2 separate regions of the Homo sapiens genome follow, and region 1 is linked to region 2. Evidence: promoter capture Hi-C in 16 types of primary human blood cells and fetal thymus (Javierre and others, 2016). All regions are on one chromosome and are shown on one strand. Each heading gives the region's core, a stretch centred on a gene start or on the middle of the fragment in contact. The rest is flanking DNA. Distances are from core to core; before and after follow the strand shown. Region 1 overlaps CACNA2D3 (calcium voltage-gated channel auxiliary subunit alpha2delta 3). Region 2 holds the start of WNT5A (Wnt family member 5A).

What was found. The method cuts DNA at HindIII sites, captures the fragments that hold promoters and counts their contacts. A CHiCAGO score of 5 or more calls a contact.
Region 1: a fragment that was not itself captured here is called in contact with the fragment with the promoter of WNT5A in region 2 in 1 of 17 cell types (megakaryocytes); the score reaches 7.9 in megakaryocytes.

What each region holds. Positions count from the first base shown.
Region 1 is chr3:54,833,540-54,836,347 of GRCh38, reverse strand. All of the region lies in intron 14 of CACNA2D3 (calcium voltage-gated channel auxiliary subunit alpha2delta 3), which reads right to left. Among named protein-coding and RNA genes, the nearest start is that of CACNA2D3-AS1, 66 kb to the left of the region's middle. The HindIII fragment of the contact is 6,803 bases long and covers 1-2,808 here.
Region 2 is chr3:55,485,853-55,488,888 of GRCh38, reverse strand. It overlaps WNT5A (Wnt family member 5A), which reads left to right and starts at 1,583. Exons shown (of 5, transcript NM_003392.7): 1 at 1,583-1,909. The coding sequence starts at 1,904. WNT5A-AS1 (WNT5A antisense RNA 1) reads right to left here and starts at 1,271. Exons shown (of 2, transcript NR_046656.1): 1 at 1,010-1,271; 2 at 581-899. The HindIII fragment of the contact is 5,010 bases long and covers 1-2,905 here.

The DNA.
Region 1 (2,808 bases), core at 294-2,793, 650 kb after region 2:
CAGGAGAATGGTGTGAACCCGGGAAACGGAGCTTGCAGTGGGCCGAGATAGTGCCACTGCACTCCAGGCTGGGTGACAGAGCGAGACTCTCTCCCAAAACAAAAACAAAAAAAAAAAAAAAGAAAAAAAAAAAGAATGGCCCTTGAAATACAGCATGTGATTCACGTCTGTAAACCTCTCAATTGGGTTACAGACACATGGAGACACACCATTGCACCTGCTTTTTACACAGTGTTGGGAGACAGGCAGGAACCCCTACTCTGTCCCAAACAAATAGGGAAACAGAGTCTTGGAACATGGTAGGCTTTGGCCCAAGACAAATCTGGTTCTAAATCTCAGCTCTGAATCTTTCCTAACTGCACTAGTGAAGTCTCCACATGCTCATATGAAATAATGCCCACTATTCCCCAGCACTGTTGCCATGAAGACAAAACAGAAAACTGCCCAGCATGGTACCTGGCATATGGAAGTGCTCAAAGGATGCCAGCTTCTTTTCTCTGCCTTCGAGGTCACACAGCTAGTAAGTAGCAGAGTCCAAAATGAGATTAAGGCTGGAGGCACTGCTGACAGGCACCAAAATTGACCAGGCAAGTCCTTCTGGCTTCGTAGCCTGTTCAAGCCCCAAGTGAAGCAATCCGTGAACTAGAATCCACTATCTTCAACCTAGCGTGTTTTCTGATATTTGGACACTTCTCTTCCATAGCTTTAGTTCCACAGAATAATCAGGCATTGCTCCCTCAATCTACTTGGAAAGAGGCATTATAAAGAGAAGATCCTAAAATCTAAGCGTTTGAAGCCCCCATTGACTGGCTGGTCTCTTGAGTAAAGGTCATTAAACTTAGTCTTTCTTTTGCCTTGTTCTTCTAATAGATTATTAGAGCTGTGGGGTGTCACTACTTACAATGTAGTACCCAGAACAGCAGCACCTGTAGCACCTAAGTGCTTGTTAGTCTCAGGCCCCATTCCAAACACTCTGAATGTGAATAATTATTTTAATGATTCGTATGTATATTAAAATGCAAGAAGCATTCGTATAGGGCAATCCTTTCCATTTCATTTCCACCAATAATCATGACAGCTAAAGAGAAGCTGGCAGGTGTTGGAAAAAAACTCCCAACAGGGGTGGAGGGGGCCATGCTTTTATAAGTTTTACATGGATATCAAGATAGTCCTATATCCCTCCGTGACAAGTAAAATGAAGCAAGAATCTCCTGGTCTGTCTAGGACTGGGAACTCATGGTGACATGGTTAATTTTATGTGTCAACTTGGCTAGGCCATCATGCTCAGTTGTTTGAGCAACTGCCAGTCTAGATGTTGCTGGGAAGGTGTTTTTTAGATGTGACTAACATTTTAATCAGTAGTAAAGCAGATTATTCTCCATAATGTGGGTGGGTCTCATCCAATCCATTGAAGGCCTTAAGAGAAAAGACAAGGCCCCCCTCAAAAGAAGGAATTCTGCCTGTAGACTGTCTTCAAACTCAAGACTGCAACATCAACTCTTGCTGCAATTTCCAGCATGTCAGACTGCCTGCCTTGCAGATTTCAGACTTGCCAGCCCCACAATTGTGTAACCCAATTCCTTAAACTAAATTCCTCCCCACCCTATCTGTATAGCCTATCTCTAGCTCTATAGGCTATCTCTAGAGAACCATGACTAATAATATACATGGTAATCATATAAGTGATTATTTTGGGCACCCTAATTTGGGTGAAAGAATATGTAAACAACTTTAATTCATCAATATAATAAACAAAAAATATTAACTATGAGATGATGCTGACAGTTAGTGTTGCCATGAACCAAGTCAACCAGTATATACAGTCTGTAATAGTTTTTGGAAACATGGTTCTAACATCTTGCTTAAAATACTCAAAGCATACTGTGGCCACCACTGGAAACCTGCAAGGCCATTTTCAAAGGCAGAACCAGCCCATGGTAAATAGTTCTCTTAGAATTAGAAGTCTTCCCATATTCTGACTCCTTGATTAATCGTTAATGCTATAAAGAAAACTGATTTGAGCTGATCCATAACTCCGCACAACTTCCACTTTGCAACTCAAATCAAATTTCAAGCAGTGCCAACATGTAACATGGATGAAATAAAAACATACCATTGACAATAATGAGAAATGAAGCCTTTTTCCTGCAACCAGTAAAAATCAGTTATAAATTACTAGTAATTGTCCTGGCACAAAGACAAGATTATGAGAAACTAACTTCAAAATATTAAGCCAGAATATAGTATCAACTTCACTCAGGAGCTAATTCCAAATGTAATTACTGCATCATTACTTTAAAAAAGAAACCCATAATATTGCATTTGTACTGAAACCATTCATTTGTAACCAGCCCCAGGTAAACAAAGGAAATGCATTCAGTTCAGTCTGGCAACAGTTCACATGTGGGCCAATGATCTCATGGACCTCTCCTAGGGGCAGTTCTGGCCCCAATTTGAACTGGCTTGGCCAGAACCCTAACCCGTAGGCTTTCCTATGTATACCAGTTCATCATTATGGCAACAAAGACTGGCAGGAACACAGAAATACCATTTGCAGAAAATTAAGACTCTCTTCTGCACCCACCAGCTCCATCATTCCCAGTCCCCACAGGTCTGGACTCTGTGAATCTTAAACGTTTCATGGAGAAACACATCAATTTGCAAGTTCATTTGCACTGTAAGCACTTTATGATTGAAAGGCATTCTATACTCTTGCCATAGGAAATAGCAGTCAATGGCAAGTTTTGTTTTTTTTTTCCCAGACCACCAAGCAGAAGTTATGCAGCCAACTATGGCCAGAAACCCTCT
Region 2 (3,036 bases), core at 334-2,833:
CTCCCCCAGAGGTAAGAATGAGGAGGTCCCCCATGAGGTTCCATGTCAAGGCAGCAGTCTCCGTGGAGCCCCAGTGGGAGCGGTCTGGGATACGCGGGCGAGCCAAGGGGTCCAGGCGGGGAAGTTGGGGTTCAGCCTCCCGCCGGTCGGTGGCTCTGGAAGGAGCGCAGACAACCAGGCGGCAGGCAGGCAGCGGCTGCGGAGTGGACCTCTCTCTTTCAGCAGATGCCGCGGGGGATGGGGAACTTAGAGAAGGGGAGACAAGGAGAGTGTACCCCGCCTCCCGGCACCCCAGCCCGTAGTACGGCTTTAAAATCCTGCAGAGTTTGTCATAGGCCGGCCTCACCACGCATGCGCATAGCAAAGTTGAGTTTTTTCTTTCTTCCCCCCCCTTCCCTCTCTCTTTCCAGCCGCCCCTAGTTCTGAAACTTTAAAGAACTTTTTTCTTTCTTTCTTTCTTTCTTTTTTTTTTTTTCTTCCTTCTGAGAACACCAGGGGAAAGAGGAGTCTGGAGAGAGGGAGGGAGAGAGTAAGGCAGTTGGCCAGAAGGGCTGGGGGGTGGGAGGGGGGGACGCGTCCCCGCGGTCGGTCAGTCTGTTTGCGGGGCACAGGATCGCGTGGAAATCTGCTGCGAGCTCCACGGAGCCGCCTCCGCCGCCCAGAGCCGGGGTCCGTGCGGCAGCTGCCCAGCGAGCCCTTCCGCCGCCGCCGTTGTGCCCGGGACCGCCCGCCTCCCGCCGGCCCGCTCTCCCGCCCCTCGGACCCGGGCGCCAAACGAGGAGGTGGGCAGCTTCGCCGGCCATGGACCGCCGGAGCTGAGTCGCCGCCGCGGAGCTCCGAGCTCTCGCCCTTCCCCAGCCTCGCGCCCGCGGTGCACTCGCTGCTCTTCGCCCTTCGCCCTGGAAAAACGGGGAAAAGAGAGATCAACCCGAAGAGAGAAAGAACGGGATACGTGGTGGGGGGGGGGAGCCCGCGTCTCCCCTGGGTTAGTCGCACCCCTCCAGCTCACCGCACAGCAATAAGTTCCGGGGCGACTTTCACCTATTTTGCTCCCCGTTTTTGCCGAACCCTAAAATGAAAGGACACAATTTGGGGCTGACTCTTGCAGCTCAGATGGCGACTTGTGCGTTTTCAGCGGCATCTCCCGGAGAAAAAGCCATGCGCGCCTGATTGTTCTGTGGCCCCAAAGCTGCAGCGGGGGTGTGTGTGTTGGGGTGTGTGTCTGTGTGTGTACAGAGACGTCCACACTAACTCGCGGCTGCAGGATCAGCGTCTGGAAGCAGACGTTTCGGCTACAGACCCAGAGAGGAGGAGCTGGAGATCAGGAGGCGTGAGCCGCCAAGAGTTTGCAGAATCTGTGGTGTGAATGAACTGGGGGCACCTGGGCGCACAGATCGCCCCCCTTCCCCCGCCCCGGGCCACAGTTGAGTAGTGGTACATTTTTTTCACCCTCTTGTGAAGAATTTCTTTTTATTATTATTTGTCGTAAGGTCTTTTGCACAATCACGCCCACATTTGGGGTTGGAAAGCCCTAATTACCGCCGTCGCTGATGGACGTTGGAAACGGAGCGCCTCTCCGTGGAACAGTTGCCTGCGCGCCCTCGCCGGACCGGCGGCTCCCTAGTTGCGCCCCGACCAGGCCCTGCCCTTGCTGCCGGCTCGCGCGCGTCCGCGCCCCCTCCATTCCTGGGCGCATCCCAGCTCTGCCCCAACTCGGGAGTCCAGGCCCGGGCGCCAGTGCCCGCTTCAGCTCCGGTTCACTGCGCCCGCCGGACGCGCGCCGGAGGACTCCGCAGCCCTGCTCCTGACCGTCCCCCCAGGCTTAACCCGGTCGCTCCGCTCGGATTCCTCGGCTGCGCTCGCTCGGGTGGCGACTTCCTCCCCGCGCCCCCTCCCCCTCGCCATGAAGGTAGGTGTTCAGTGCGCTGCCACTTTTTTTCTTTACTTCCCCCCACCCCCTGTTGGAAGTTAACTGAGTTCCCTTCGCCTCTTCCTATCCCTCCATTTCCCCAACCGCCTGAAGAAGCTGGAACTCCAGCGTCGCTGGCAGGAACCCCTACCCCTTCGCCCTCCACGCCGGGCGCACTGCCTCAGTGTCCCAGGAGATCACTTCTGGTCGCACCACCCGTTCTGCAAACAATTTTGATTTTTGAGAAAAAGTGGGGAAGAGCGATAGTAGACAAACTGAGTGCGGTTCACTGACGACTTTCCTTTTGCTCTGAGAACATCGAGTGTAATTTACTATGTATATTTCAGTAACAGGATAATGATTCAATTCAACAAATATTTACCAAGCGCCCACTGCGCGGGCACCGGGACGGTGTGTGGCCGGGGCTCGGGATGGGGAAAGGGACTCCTTGGTTGAGAGAACCCGCAGAGGAACTAGGGGCCAACTACTCCAGAGCGGCGTACACCTTCCCCGACACCCCCCCGCACCGACGGAGGCCAGATTGTAGGCTTGCCTTGGCCGAGTAACTCGAGCGCTTCAGGCCCCTTTGCCTTTAAGAGTGCCTGGCGGGGGGCCAGCGCGCACCCCGGCGCGGGGAGCGGGGTCGCGTTATTAGCATTATTAGCCGCCACTGGGTGAGCTCAGGCACTTTGCAGCAGTGGTGGGGGCGGGGAGTTGTGGTGGTAGTGGCTGTAATCCCGTACTCCGGGACAGCGCTCCCCGGCCCCCTGAGCGGAGTCCGCCTTGTCCTTTAGAAAACACTTGGGCCTCCGCTTTGGGAGAGCAGGCGGGGGCCAGTTTGCGAACTCTTGTTTGTTTTAATTGTCAGTTGTATGTTAAAGCCGAATCACACACTCCGAGGGTCACTGAGAGTTCACTTTTACGAAAAGTTAACGTTTCTTCCTGCAACATAAGTTTTTATTTTCTAAACAATTTTTCTTATCTGTCCTCCAAGCTTCGATTCCTATTTCCATTTTTCTGGTCTTTCCCATTTTAAGTTTCTTAGAAAATAAGGTTAGAATTGAAATTAAGATGTTTCCTGGAAGCAAATAACCCCTCTTCCCCCCAAAAAGTTAAAAAAAACAACA